Regions from separate parts of the Homo sapiens genome. Here region 2 is linked to region 1. The links are contacts of gene promoters, found by promoter capture Hi-C in blood cells and fetal thymus (Javierre and others, 2016). All regions are on one chromosome and are shown on one strand. The core of a region is centred on a gene start or on the middle of the fragment in contact, and the rest is flanking DNA. Distances in the headings are between cores, read along the strand shown. Region 1 holds the start of NTPCR (nucleoside-triphosphatase, cancer-related). Region 2 overlaps PCNX2 (pecanex 2).

Region 1 (7,836 bases), core at 2,256-4,755:
CGAATGTGTAAGCTGCTACTTCTTTTCTGAAGGGCAATTTCAATGCGCCTGCCACAGCACCCTGTAGTTCATGACTAGGAATTCATCCTCAGGAAACATCAACAATACAAATGTGTGAAAGAGGACATTCACTGCAACATTCTTTATAATAGCAAAACACTGAAAACAACCTAAATGTTGATTGTAAGGGAATGTTAACTCATGGCACCATGTATATAATAGCACATAAATACACAGAAATACCATGCAACCATTAAAAAATATACTGCTTATATGTATTTATTAGCATGGAAAATAGACCACAATGTATGAAAATAATATATGGAAAAAGCAGGTTAATAGCAGAAACCATTCCATTATGTTTTTTTTAAAGAATGGTCAAGTACGTGTCTACAGAAAAAAAAAATGTCAAGAAGAATACAGAACAAAGATTTACAATGTTGATTTCTGATGTTCAAATTCCCTGTGATTGTCACTTTCTTCCTTAAACTTTTCTTGTTTTTTTTAATTCTTATACTGAATGGGTCTTACTCTTATCCTAACAAAAATTGCCGTTTATATTTTGAAAAAGATAAAATGGAGCAACGGTAACTATTCCTGTTCACAAAGGGTATACTGTGGGGACTGTATGTTGTGTAGAACATAGTAGAGCAATAAATAGGAAGCATTTGGGCAAAGTCCCTTTTGGCTTCTTCAGCTCTAGGAATCTTCTTTCAGTTAATTTTTTCTTCATTAGTTAAGCTGCTACCCCAATGCTGTCTGGATAAGAAATGACCTCTGCTTCAGGAGACCTCGAGATGATAGCTGTATACCAGGCACAAACAGATCAGAAAGCTCTGGAATTATTTTGGTTCTGGTTCTCCCCTAAGCAGATCCTCAGATAAAGATTCAAGTGCAGGTAGTTTAACCTGGGCAGTGACAACATGATGGACTGGCAGGGAAGAAATTCAGAAAGGGAAGGGAAGGACACCAGCATGAGGTGCACTGTCAAGCAAGTTCCACTGGGGGCAGCTGGAGCTTCAACCCCCTGGGGAATCCTAAGGGACAAGTCAGGGCAAGTGGCTCAGTTATCCTGTCTGAGGAGTGAGAAAGTAGGGAATTTATCAACTAACTTTCACCAATCACAGGTTGAAGGCTAATCCCAGGGCACAGGAATTCCCTGGCTCTTCTGGCCTGCTCTGTTTGCAGGCCAAGTGGGCTCCAGGGACCAGAGAAAGCCCTCCAAGATGAGTCATGGGTACAGACAGTTGGAAATCGGAAAAAATGCTAAGTGCCAGGGGCACTAAGAGGATATGCAACAAAAAGTGACCTCTTTGAGAGGAGACTTTACCTGATGGTCTGAACATATTGAGAAAACAGAAAGAAACTAGGCAAATAAAAACACCTGACAATAACTCCTAATGGGGAAAAAAGTTATGTGTAAAAGGAAAAAAAAAAAATTAGAGGGCATGGTGGTGCATGCCTGTAGTACTAGCTACTAGGGAGGCTGAGGTGGGAAGATGGTTTGAGCCTGGAAGGTGGAGGTTGCAGTGAGCCAAGATTGTGCCACTGCACTCCAACCTGGGCAACAGAGAGAGGCCCTGTCTCAATAAGAAGAGGGAAAAAAAAGATGGGTAAGGTGGCTCACACTTATAATCCCAGTATTTTGGGAGGCCCAGATGGGAGGATCACTTGAGGCTAGGAGTTGGAGATCAGCCTGGGCAACATAACAAGAGACAGGTCTCTACAAAAAAAAAAAAATACCCGGGTGTGGTGGCATGCGCTTGTAGATCCAGCTATTCAGGAGGTTGAAGTGGGAGGATCACTTAAGCCCAGGAGTTTGAGAATGCAGTGAGCTATAACTGTTTCACTGCACTCCAGCCTGGGTGACAAAGCAAGATCCTGTCTCTAAAATAAATAAATAAATGGAAAAGAAATCATAGATTACTATGTGGCTCTGTTGTGATTGTCTTTACATGGCCATAATACTGTAAACATTGACTAATGAAAATTACGCTGTAACTACATTAAGAAGAGAAGGAGAAAAGACAAAGGTGCGTGGGTTTGAGGACAGGTTTAAGAGAGCTACACTGTAGAATTATTTGAGTCTTTCAACTACGTGTAGGTAAGACTTTGATAAAGCAGAAACAAGAACCACCATCAATACAATCACGGTAACAGGACACCTCCATTAATAAAACACACAGTTGTCTTGGGGTCAGCCTGCTGAGTATCAAACTGCATTCCAAGTTTCAAATAAAGGATTGACAAACCAACTTTCAGAAAACAGTTCTTTGCAATACTTAGGAGTGACTTTAGATAGCAGGCATTTCTCAAACCACCCTCCTCCTCCTCACCCCCTGCTCCCCAACTCCCCCATCCAATGCCTGACAAAATCCCAAAGTCTGCAATATTAGCTGTAGCCTTTGCTACTTACAACTAAACATAATCATTAAAATAAAGTGAAAGAGAATTCTAGATCCAGGGTTACAGCCTTTGATATCTGAACCCACACTAAACTTCAAAATTAGATTTGCCTTGCAAAGGAGCTGAAGAAATCACTTTCTCCACTCTTAGCCCATCTATCTTTTTTTAGCCTATCTGATGCAGCCTACCTGTCCTTTTTAGTAATGCTTGATACATGGGTAGCGCCTTGGTTTAAAAGCACCTCCTCCTACACCTCTCATCTGACCTCAACGCTATCCTGCTTCTCAGATGAGAACTCCACAGGCCACAGGGTTGAGGGATCTGACAGACATCAGGAGGGGACAGCGACAGGAACAAGCAAGAGTGTCTGAGAAGGGCTCCTGTAGGTACCAAAGCTTCTCCACCTCTGGCCTCAGCTGTGGAGGGAATTCGTGGGGATGGAGATGGGGATGGGGGTGGGGGGATGAACTTAGATGGGAAAGAAAGGTTACAACTTCAGTTTCGCTGTCCTCCAACTAAAATTTACCATTTTTTTTTTGCACGATCAATGTAGCAAAGACCCACAGTAAGGAAATACCTGTGACTATCAACAGAAATTAGACATCTCCACTTCACATCGCGGTTGCCGCAGATCTCTTGAAATACCATTTGTGCAGACCACAACGTCAACACTACAGTAGGAGTTACCGCTGCCGCTGGCCCCTGCGGTTTCTGCCCTTCATCAAGAAGCCAGTCTAGGACCCCCTCACAAGTGTGTTCTAATCCTTTAGGCCCTGTGTCTTTTAAATCACGTTTTCCGGGAAGGAGTACAAACTCTTCAGACTACCAAGCCCGCCATTTAAATTGGGAACTTCAGAGGCCGGAGCCCTGGAGCCGGAGACCCTCCCCGACAGCACAAGGTCGCCCGCAGCCCGCGCGCCCCCACCCCCTCGACCTCTTGGAGGTGGGGATCCCCTCAGGGTTACCTGGGGGCCCCGTTAGGAACACGTGCCGGGCCATACTGGTGGGCGGGGGTAGGGGTTGCGGTCAGGGGAGCAGTCCAGGTTGGGGTCGCAATTCAGGTCAGGTCCGGACCAGGGTCGCGACTCAGGACCCGCCCACCGCGTGTCGCAGGCCCCGCCCCCAAGCGGTGCTTTGACCGGAAGCACCGCCCTCAAGACCACGCATGCGCCTTCTCCCGAGTCCCCGGTCCGCGCCTGCGCATTCAGCCCTCGGCATTGGCGCCTGTGCCGCGGCAGTTCCTATAGGCGGAGCGGGTTGTACGGTCTCTTAAGTTTCATTCTGGGTTCAGGGCTTTTGTGGGGTATTTGCAGAGATAAGTGCGTGAGAACGTCAGTTATTAAACTATTGCTGCTTCAAGTCAGCGCCATCACCCAAGTTCTGCCCCTTGACTCCGGACCTAGGAGCTGAAATTGCCCAAGGCTGCCGGGACAGCCCTTTTGTAGAAGGTTTGTGACCTGGAAGCATTCCTCAAAGGGGGATGCCATGTTAATGACTCCAACTTTGTTCTCAAACATTCCTGCAGAATAGAATCAGCTGGGGAGTTTTAAACTTGCTCTGATGCCTGGGTTTCACCTGCAGTAATAGGGAGTGTCAGAAGACAAAATTACAAGTTTAGTTTAAAGATCTAATTGGCTTATATTTAGGATCTAGAATCGAGAAATAGATCATTTCATAAAGCAAATAGAGTGTTCCAATGAGTTGTGCAGAGGAGGTTGGCTTTATGGGCAAAAAAAGGCTGAAGAACAAAACAAAGAGTGGGTATTTCAAAGTTACTTTCCTTATAGGGTTAAAACAGATTGGACTTCGTTATTGTACTGACTCAGGTTAACTACAATCTCCTGTTTTTTGGGAAAACGGGCCTGTTTCAAAGTTCAGTTTGGTTACATGGCACTTGGCACAAGTGACTCCATTCTGGTTTGGTCTAGTCTGCTAGGACCTAGTGCAGGAGGTTAGTCCAAAACAATGGCCTCCCATAAATCTTGTTTAACATGAGTAATTGGTCTTGAGCGAGTCTTGAGCACCTGTATTCTTTTTTCTTCTTTCTAAACTCCAGGAAGTTCCTGAAGTGCGCTAGGGTTGAGAACCACTGGTGTAGGCAGGCTTCCCGTCCTCAGCCATGCATAGGACGCCCAGTTTTCCCTCTTTACTTTCACACCAAAGTGTATAAAGATCTCCTCTTGCAAAGAATTAAATAGCTTCTCCGTCTCACTTTACCACTGCAAGTGTTCCGGCCAACGAATGACGTGGCAGTGGCCTTGGGCCACATTTACCTGTAAACTCTTTCAGTCTAACATGTGTACAGCTTAATTTGTAGTCAGTCGTTCCCCATCCTGGCTGAGAAAGCAGTTCAGTGAGTGCTCAACTTAATTGGTTTCTGCCCACACATGGACCTCTTGGTTTCCCTTTAGCCTGAGACATATGCCAGTCCAATGATTATCTAAAAAAACAAAGTTGGATTTGTAAAATATAGCTGTCATCACCATCATTTCTGCAACATTTGTAATGCTCTATTATTATAACAGTATACTATTTATTATCCCAACTGTTAATGTAGGGCCTTCCACCTTGATTTATTTTGCAGTCCATATATGTTGAATACAGTGAAAAGTTGATATAGTAAAGTAAATTCATAGGAGGAGCTTCCAAAAAAAAGGAAAAAAGTATATGTATCTCTTGTATCAAAAGTACTCGTTTTAAATGTTAATCAGATAGCATTTTCCATCACTGAAAAGCAGTTTGGATTTGCAAGGCTCACCGGAAGTTGGGTTCTTTTGTTTTGTTGCTGTGCCTGGAATTCTGGCATCAGTTTAAGTAGCTCAAAGATACATGGAATTCAGATATGGTGAATCAACGTCTCACAAAACAGAAAAAAAGACTCCATAGTTGAATGTACTTTATCCATGGAAAATGAATTATTTGGATGGTAGTTCCACGGATATCTTCTTGTTAGAAAATTCATTGATTTGATGCTTAATTTCTACAGTTTCCTGTATGTGTTATTAGGTAACAATAACAAAAAATTAAATAGCTTATATCTCTTAGAGATTAACAACAAAAGAAGATGGCATAAATTGAAACAAATTTTAAAATAAATGGGATCTTAAAGTACTGTACCATACTGAATCCAACTTTTGCTTCCTATCTAATCAACATCCAATGGACGGATGTTTGTGTCCCCCCAAAATTCATATTGTTGAAATCCTAACCCACAAGGTGAAGGTATTAAAGTGTGGGGCCTTAAAGAAGCAATTAGGTAATCAGGTCACTAGAGTGGAGTCCTCATGAATGTGATTAGTACCCTTAGAAAAAGGCGGGAGAAAACTTGCTTTCTATCTCTCTGCTCTCTGCCATGTGAAGATACGAGGAGAAGACTGCTCTCTGTCAACCAAGATGAGGGCCTTCCCCAAGAACCCAGTCGTGTTGGCACCCTGATCTTAAACTTCAGCCTCCAGAGTTGTAAGAAATAAATGTTTTTTTGTTTAAGCCACTCATCTGTGGTACTCTATTATAGTAGCCTGAGCTAACACACAAGGTAGAATTAATTACCTAAGGAACAGGTGATTCCAAAGATTTCTTCTGCAACACCTGGGTGCAGCCTCACTTATGACAGGATGCAGTACAGTTCTTTATTAAAACAGTTTGTAGGTACAACTCTACAGTCTCTACAATTATAAAATACCCTAAAGTCCAAAAAACACTGTTTATTTTGTTTTCATATCTACCCTTTTCCCAGAACTGTCCTAATTTTTAAACTGCAAATTCTGTGTCTTAGAAAGCCCCTCAATCCCGAGCAAACCAGGATGAATGGTCATCAAACTGTTAAAGGAACATTTGGGAAGTAAAGCAGAAGGTTTCATGTGGTTAAACAAGATAATTCCTTCTTACAAACAAGTCAAAGGCTAATAATACTTTATTGTAAGCTGGTTGTCTTGTCAGCGGTGGTTATAGAATGACTGTTTAATGCAGTCTGTACCTAAACTCTGAGCCATTCATACCCTGAGTTCTAATCTCTGTGCAGAACAATGTTCTATCCTGCCAGTAACCCAGTAGGACAGAAGCAGAGATGACTCTACACCCTCACCCCACCCCTTCCTACACCGCATGCCTGGATGTCCCCCACGCCCAGCTGCTACTGGCATCCTGTGGCATCTTCCTGGCTGGACACAGAACAAGAGTTCTGGCATATTTAGGGTACAGTTTCCTAAGTACAGGAAAACTGAAAACAGAACAAAGAAAAAGTATGGATGTGAAAATAACCAAGTGGGAAGAGAGACCATTGTGTTGTTTGGCCAGCCCACTGTTCATTTCACTGTATGGAAATAGCAGCTAAATTCTCCTTTTAGGAACCCCCTTTCTCCCAGGCTCTGTGATTGATAGGAGTGAACCTCCCTCCCTTTCTCATTATCCAAGGGGAATACATGACCCAAGCCTGGTCAACGAGATCATTCTATCTTCCCAGCCTCAGTGATTGACTCTGAGGAAGCATGTGACCCGGGCAACACATCTACCCCTAGCCAGTGGGGATCGAGGACAGCCACCAGCCACCATGACTGAAGCAGAGGGACAAGGGGAAGTGAGAGGGGGTGTGAGAGGCCTCCCCCGCATTCTCCCCAGTCACTCCTTGCTCATCCTCCAGGATGGGCTCAACTGTTACTGCTCCCCAAGGCTTTTGTGATTCTCCAGGCCCAGCCTCTGCTCCCTTGGCCTTCCCTTACAGCACCCCCTGATTGCTGGCATCTGCCTCTTCTCCTGCCACCCAGTTATGAACTCCTCCAAAGGTAAAAATCTAGGCTGGGTGCGGTGGCTTACACCTGTAATCCCAACACTTTCGGAGGCCAAGGTGGGCAGATCACTTGAGGTCAGGAGTTCATGACTGGCCTAGCCAACATGGTGAAACACCGTCTCTGCTAAAAATAGAAAAATTAGCTGGGTGTGGTGGCCCGGCACCTGTAATCCCAGCTACTCGGGAGGCTGAGGCAGGAGAATCGTTTGAACCCAGGAGGCAGAGGTTGCAGTGAGCCACTGCACTACAGCCTGGGCAACAGAGTGAGACTCCACCTCAAAAAAAAAAAAAAAGAATCTAAAAAATCTTGTGCTATTCATCTCTTTATACCCAGAATATAGCACGGTACTTACAACACATTCATCCATCACTGTGTACCAGGAAATGTACGTCCTGGAGATACAGCAGCAAAGAAGACAGTCTCTGTGCTGCTATAGCTTATATTCTGGTGGGAGACACAGACAGACAAGTACATAAATAAAATGCCACAGAGTAGTAAGGCCATGGAGGAAAAAATAAAAGGATGGGAAATGAAAAGGGAAGTGGATGTGCTACTCCATAGAAGGTGGTCAGGGAAGATATTACTGAGAATACAGCATCTGAGCAGAGAGTTGAAGGAAGCAAGCCCTGCCGGTGTCTGGGGG
Region 2 (7,836 bases), core at 2,084-4,583, 230 kb before region 1:
TCCCAGCTACTTGGGAAGCTGAGGTATGAGAATTGCTTGAACCCGGGAGGTGGAGTTTGCAGTGAGCTGAGATTGTATGACTGCACTCTAGCCTGGGTGATAGAGAGTGACTCCAGCTCAAAAAAAAAAAAAAAAAAGTCAGCAACTTGAGCATTTTTATAGGCGGGGCAGAGGGGACCAATGAAAAGAAAGTAGGACATCCTAGTGTGAGGGGAGAGTTGGGCTCAGGGAAGGAGGAAGTACACCTCTCCCTTGGACACTGGAAGGGAAGGCGTTGCTGATGAAAACTCCAAAGAAAGAAGAGGTCCGTGCAGGATGCCTCATCACTGGGTTTGAGCTTTTCAGCAAAATTGGTGGGGAAGACATCTGCACAGAATTAGAAAAATAATAAATGCAGACATGGTACCTTAGAGTGCTGGAAAAGGCACCCCACCCTCGGGGAAGCTGATCTGAGAGGCATGCAGGGCGTCCTGGTGTGGGGAGCTGTGTGGAGAGTGCGTCTGGAGGCAGTGAGTCTTACTTCCTGACTTTGTAGCCATGCAGCTCAGCAGCCTCAGGAAGACTCAGCTCCCTGCAATTTGCTTTACAGGTACTGCTCTCGGGCGTTTAGACTTCCACAATGGGGAAGATAAAAGAAATACATTTTAATTTCTAGGAAAATGAAGCATGTAAAAATAAAATCACTTGCTCTATCCAGTGTATCATTTGCTTTTCCAGACTATTTTAGCAGTTACAGTGGACAACTGCTAAGCACACTTGACTCATTCATTTGTAGATTTCATTATAAGCACCACAATTAACCCATCTTAAAAAAAAATCTTGACAGAAAAGTATTTAAGTTCTTGACTAAATTCAGCTTTCAGAAGGCATCAGTGATTCTGCTGATGGTGATTGAGAAGATTAAATATGTAGATGTTTTCTTCTTGGTGTATGAGAGACATGTTTGTGTTGGTGGGAGCACCAGGTGTGTGTGGGAGAGGAGCTGGAGTCCCAGGCCACCACACTGGTTGGGGTGGTAACATGTATTTCCCATGTTCTGCTCTGCCAGGCCGAATACAATGTGTTGATAACTGACATCTGTGCTTCTATCAAATTAAACCTGAAGTGCCTCTTTTCATTTCAAATAACTTTGCTCTTTCCTCAGGTGATTATCTTTAATCTTTGTTAGAAATGCTTGTTCCCTGGTGCCACAAAGAAATAGCACTCGAACATAAATTTAATTCTCTCAGCAAGGCCATTTTTACTTCCTGCAGAAAGGGTGCTCTATGCAGATGGAACAATGGCGAGAGCACGCTTGAACAAAGGAAAAGCAGACATATTTATCCCTTACACATTTGGGTCGTCCTTACTGCTGTGTCTGGCATCCATTGGCTGGAGCTGGACCTCACAGTCTTAAACAGATACCCTATTTGCTAATAGCTTAACACTTTCTTAAACAGGTAAGTGCAAGGGAGAACAAAGAAGAAGAGAAAGTTGCTCATGAAAGGTTTAAGGAAGCAATAACATTTCCAAATAGGGAAGGGGCATAAGCTATGAGCTAAGACTTGCCTGGGCCTGTCCAGACATGCTTGAGTAAGCCAAAGCAACTAACTGGGCTAAAGTGTAAGAACTGATAGTTGATAGGAGGCTTTAGAGTAAGAAGCTATTATTCCTAGTGTCTATTATTATATTTTTAAACCAAGACAAGCTTTGAAGAGGAACTTTTCTACTTTCTACAATCTTTATCAGGTTTTCAGTTCATTAGTCTATTTAATCTCTTATGTCATTTTTACATTTTTTATGCCATTTAGACCATCAATTAATAAACATTGAGAAATACAATTATTATAATTGTTAATTATTATATTGAATTCAGAGGAGGGACACATGTTTAATATTACATTCTATAGAACATTCTAAGCTTAATTTCAGGAAAGATTCAGTTTTATTCTTATAAGTATGTATAATTAGTCAAAAAGTTCCTTATCAAAATCAATGTCTATAAACCAACAGGTGAGTTTTTTGTGTGCCCACCAGATGCTTATATGTCCGTGGGCAGGAATAATCATGGGAATAACTCATCCATCCAGCTGGACCTTGGGGATATTTCTAAATGTCTGATAGAGATCCTGCTATTCACACAGCTGTGGAGTGACTTGGCTAACTGATGTCTTTTCTTTAGGAACCGTGGAGCATGCAACACATCCCGGCACTGTTTTCGGCCTTCTGTGGCCTCTTGGTCGCCCTTTCTTACCATCTGAGCCGTCAGAGCAGTGACCCATCTGTACTCATGTGAGTGGTCTATGCCTGTGCTCTCTCATCACTGAGCTGGGGGCATAGTTCCTGCAGCTTTGTGCCCTGACTGAGATGGGCAGACAGCAATTCACTGCCCATTGTGATTTGACTCTCATTATTAAACTAGCTGGTCACTCACTAGAGGAGGGAAGGAGAAATACAGGACCAGCCAGAAACTAATAACAATTAAAAATGAACATCTAGCAAACATTTTAGTTTTGCTCTTTTGATTTTGGAGTAAAATGCACAGTGGCAGGAACAGAGGGTCGATAGCACCCAAGCCCTGTTGTGACTTTCCCTTGGGTGAGCTGGGTAAGAAGCTGCCTCCTCAACAATACCCTCTCTAGATCCATTAACTACATCCCTGCCTTTACTCTAGGCAGTTACCCTGGGGAGACTAAACCAGCACCTCTGAAAAGAAAGATTTTGTTTGATTTTATTGTTTTGTTGTTGTTGTTGTTCCCAATCTGGCCAACGTCCTCTGGATTTAAAGTGAAATTTGCACCAAAGTGTTAAAATGTATTTAATGTAATGCTTAGTAATGTGAAAGTATACATTACAATCTTCCCTTTAATCATATCTTTAAGTTTTGGTAACGTGTACTCTGGCACTGGAAATCTTTCATGTGATGCCACAGTGAGTTTAAGATATTGACAGTAGCATCTTATGTAATTTGTTTAAATTTATGAAAGATTTTGATTTAAGATAACCGTAACTCTTTGAAGACCAGAGACACCATAATTTTAGGCCATGAGGTGCAGTAGTGTGAAAGGCATGAAAAATGGGGGAAACAAAAGTTAAACATGGTTCACACAATTTTTAGTGTCAATTGTATTAGTGCAATGTTCACTTTTTGCTGCTAATTGTGAAGATGAAGCCCTAGTGGGCTAGCAGAGATGGAGGACCTTCCCCATGTCCCACTGCTGACAATAGAGGGCAATGATACTGCTAAGGTACTTGACTGCTCTCATTAGGATGAAATTTACAAATCAAAACACTATCTTTATGATCACTTGAACATGCACCTCTTTTTATTATAAATTTTTAAATGAAGAGAGCACTTGTTTTTGTCATGTGTGGGTGTGAGATCTAAGGTGAAGTTATTTACCGAAAACACTGTCCCAGGAACATCTTTGATGAAGTATTGTGTTTTTCCACTTTCAGGTCCTTCATCCAATGCAGGCTGTTTCCTAAATTTTTACATCAAAATCTGGCAGAGTCAGCTGCTGACCCTCTCCCCAAGAAGATGAAAGATTCAGTGGTGAGACATTTGCGTTGTGTAATGTAGCATAGGAGGGCCTCATCTTTCAGCAGAGATCAGGCTCTCAATGGAGCTCTAGGCAGGTGGACATGAGAAGGACTAGGACAGAAAGATACACCTCGCTTGGTACCTGGCACACTGGGCTGTTGAGCTGCCTGCCAGGTGCAGCCCTATTTGAAACGCTTGCTCTCCGGTGCTGTAAAGAATATCACTTGAAAGTAAATTTAACTTACTCAGCAAGGCCATTTTTATACTTTCTGCAGAAAGGGTACACTCGCCAGCAGTTTTGCCATGAGAGTACACCAAACAAAGGAGACAGGGTCATTTATAACCTGACACATCCACCTTACTGCTGTGTCCGGTTTCCATTGGCTGGAATGGGGCCTCACATTCTATATTTGTCCCGATTGGCTAGCAACTTAGAACTTTTTAGAAGAGGCAAAGGTAGAGGAGAACAAAGGAAGGAGGAAGTAACTTGTGGAATGCTAAGAAAGGTAAAAACACCTTTAAATAAGGAAGAGGATCAGGCTATGACCTAATGCTTGCTTGGACCAGTATAAGCATGCCAGAGCAAGTATTTAGGCTAAATTGTGGGAGCTAAGAACATAAAGTACATTGATTTCTTTATCACGGCTAGCAGATATTTAAGAATGTTAGCACAGGTCTTTGAATAAATTTTGCTTCTAAGAGAAGTTACTATTTATTCCTAATTAAATGGGGAGGAAAGTCTTTGAAGAGGAACCTTTACTTTATTTTTTTACAAGCCCTTTAGAGCATCTTTTTTTTTCTTTAGAGACAGAATCTCACTGTCTCCCAGGCTGGAGTGCAGTGGCATGATCTCGGCTCACTGCAAGCTCCGCCTCCCAGGTTCACACCATTCTCCTGCCTCAGCCCGAGTAGCTGGGACTACAGGTGCCCGCCACCATGCCCAGCTAATTTTTTGTATTTTTTTAGTAGAGACGGGGTTTCACCGTGTTAACCAGGATGGTCTCGATCTCCTGACCACGTGATCTGCCTGCCTCAGCCTCCCAAATTGCTGGGATTACAGGCGTGAGCCACCGCCCCCAGCCTAGAGCATCTTGATGGTGGCTGTTGTGCACACATGGTGTGGCCACTTAGGTGGCCCTCAGGTGGCTGCAGTTTGCCAGGATAGTCACATGAATCACATTCAGTCCGTTTTGTGTATTGCTGGCACCAAACAGCAGGTGGGCTCTGCACAAATGAAAGCTTGTCAGATAAACGTTTAGCCAACCTGCCCTCCTGATGTGGTCCACACACAGCTGTTCTCCACATCTTCTCCCCTAAGCACCATGCTTAGTTCAGAGCATTCTTTCAAAGTTGATGTCTGCATAGCGATTGCTTGGGGCCCTTGGACTTTAGACTTATGGCTGGGTCACAGAGAAGGGGGCAACCACACTGGGTGGAGCACGGGAGAAGAAAAGGAAGAAGGAGAGAAAGGAAGGAACAAGAGAATCCTACAACTATAAAATAATGATGCCATTTCCTTGTTCACCAGGATAAGGGCTCTGGACAGCTTCAAAAGTTCTTTTAGCAGATGTCGTTTCTTTGGTATCAACTTACAAACATTCATACTTTGAAACACAATGCTCATTAATTGTGTAAGCTCCCATACATCTGAGTATTGAGCTTGGAGCCTCTGATGTCCTTGACTCACACTTTTCCTGGTTTTCTTAGGAATGACAGATAAAAGGAAAAGAGAAATAGTCTGTTGATCCAGCCAGGACTGTGTCTCATTTGTCTTGATATCCACAGAGCCAGTGCCCGGTGTTACAGTGGGTGCTCAGTACAGTTCATGGAATTTCGATGAATTTAATTGCAGTCTGCCATTTCAAGACGACGTACAGGACTCACAGCCAACATGATAGCCTTAAAAAAATTCATACTCAGCTTTTGTGCCTTTGAGTGTGGTCAGAATTCAAACTAGTATTAAGGCTTTTTTTCCACTACAAGGGAATCAAAGGACAAATCACTTAATATGAGTAAGGGCATAGTTCATGAATTTTAGGAGCAGAGATACATTTAAAAGCAGGTTAAAAGTCAAAGCAGCTGGGCCTGATGAGATGGCAGCTTAAAAAAAAAGAGAAATATTTGACATAAGCCTAGCATCCACAACCTGACCTCTAATATTTATACCAGGAGACTTACAGGGAGAAGGTCAAACTGACATTCCTACAGCATTTTCTGTAAAAGCCGTAGGGTGGCCCAGAGTCTACCCAAAAGTCTCCCCATGGATATCTGAGAAAAACTATGCCCTTCAATCTTCCTTGATTTCATGACTAATGAAGATGCATTTCTACTTTCTGATTTATTGCAGTTAAAAAAAAGGTAGGAATTACAAGGAAATTTGACAAGAAATTTGCCCAGCAGAGGTTGATAGTATTTCATTGGTATAATTAGATGTGATGGGCTAGGTGTTGCCTCCCTTGGTTTTCATACCCTTTGAAATGCTTTGTACAGTGTGGAGCACATAACTTGTTAGGTGATTTAATAAGATGTTTGTGTTCATTTCTCTGAAAAGTCTCTGGCCTAATTATAATATTTTAATGGGAATATCACATTCAGCTTTTAGAGTTTGATATAATACCTTCTGTGACACTGTGCAAGCATAAACCCCCCTCCCATTGTCTCTGATTTTGTTTCTCTGTGTCTCCAGCTCTTATTTTCTCTGTCTGTCTGTCTCTCTTCTTGAGTTTTAGTCTGTATGAGAACCCCTCAGGGAGCCTCATTAGATTTCAGTTTTCTAGCCCTCTGCCCATATTCTGATTCATCTGGCCTGTGAGGGGGTCTGAGGATCTTCATTTTAACAAGAATGTTCACCCAGGTGATTCTGTTTAGGTGATCCACAGATTGCACTTCAGGAAACATTGATCTAGAAACAGAGATATACCAATGGGCCTATACATTTGCATATGAGCAAGATAAGTTATGCACACAAAGTTTATCACCAAAATTCATTACTTAATAAAGATATAAACTTTCCGCTAATGGTTTACCTGGTTAGTCTTTTTCTATTTGTCTTATTAGCACAGACTCTTTTAACTTTCATATCTTTGTCATTTTCAACACCCTTTATTATGTTTAGATTTGTTTGTTTCACTGTATCAATTTTCTTCAGTTCCTAGAAACAAAAAAAAGCCTATTTAATTCTTATGTGTAAAATTCAAACAGTCTTTTCCTAAATCATTGGTTATAATATCTAGATTTTTCTGGTCCCATGCTGCTAGATGTGGAATGTTGGAACAGGGGTTCTTAAGCTTCCTTTGAGAGTTGGAGTGTGAAGTACTATATAAAATGCCACAGTGAATTTAAAATGTTCAGTATATGAAAAGCTAATATATTTCTTAGTTAAACATGCACGGATTTACCATAAATCCAAAAATTTATATATAAATTTATATATAAATTTTTCATTTTTTTCTCTTTGCAGCCTTACACTGGCCAGAACTTCTAAAACAATATTCAATAATATTAATAGTTTGCTATTTTACATTATATAAAATATAAATTATATATTACATATTATATATAATTTATATAAAATATAAATTAAATATATAACATAATTTTTATATAATATATAATATAAATTAAATACATATTTATTATAATACTATATAATATATAAAATATGTTATATATTACATATAATATATAATTTATTATATATAATATACAAATTAAATATATTTATATATAATTTTATATATTATATATAAAATTTAAATTATATATTTGTTTTATGTATATATAAAATGAAAAGCAAAATAGTAAAGAGTAAAGAGCAAAGAGAAAAAGAAAAAAATGATGATTTATATGTGTATATAAAACTTTTCTGTGCATACTATATAATCAACTATGATTAATAAGAGTATTCATAAATACAACCAGAGAAAAGAAAATTTAGAAAAGCAAGAACTTTCTAACATACCAGAAATAACCTATGAAAATGTGATCCAACTCACAATACCAACAAAATGTCTGAATTGATAATGGAAATGATTTCTAACAAGTAGTGTCACAAATAAAGTAAACTAACTACCGCAGTTTATTAAAATGTAAATGATGTTCTGAATAAGTGGAGATAGACATAACCTGATTTTGGATAGGAAGGCTGAGATTTATAAAATGCCAATTCTTTCTAATGAATTTGTAGGTTTCATATAATTCAAAACAGTTCCAAAGGCATTATATTCCCAACATTGATAAATGATTCTAAGGTTCCTTTAGAAGAATAGCAGCTAATAGTTTTTAAAAACTTGAGAAAGAAGCATAAGAAAAAG

The links. The method cuts DNA at HindIII sites, captures the fragments that hold promoters and counts their contacts. A CHiCAGO score of 5 or more calls a contact.
Region 2: a contact is called between a fragment that was not itself captured here and the fragment with the promoter of NTPCR in region 1, in 1 of 17 cell types (neutrophils). The highest score is 5.6, in neutrophils.

What each region holds. Positions count from the first base shown.
Region 1 is chr1:232,946,280-232,954,115 of GRCh38, reverse strand. NTPCR (nucleoside-triphosphatase, cancer-related) reads right to left here and starts at 3,505. Exons shown (of 5, transcript NM_032324.3): 1 at 3,372-3,505. The coding sequence starts at 3,405. LOC107985361 (a long non-coding RNA gene) reads left to right here and starts at 2,567. Exons shown (of 2, transcript XR_001738525.2): 1 at 2,567-2,788; 2 at 2,960-5,896. RefSeq lists enhancers at 917-1,126, 1,062-1,561, 2,690-3,229, 3,230-3,771, 3,684-3,783. The HindIII fragment of the contact is 8,064 bases long and covers 2,804-7,836 here.
Region 2 is chr1:233,173,501-233,181,336 of GRCh38, reverse strand. It overlaps PCNX2 (pecanex 2), which reads left to right. Exons shown (of 34, transcript NM_014801.4): 16 at 2,162-2,271; 17 at 3,439-3,535. Among named protein-coding and RNA genes, the nearest start is that of PCNX2, 120 kb to the left of the region's middle. RefSeq lists enhancers at 1,474-1,663, 993-2,192. The HindIII fragment of the contact is 2,862 bases long and covers 1,903-4,764 here.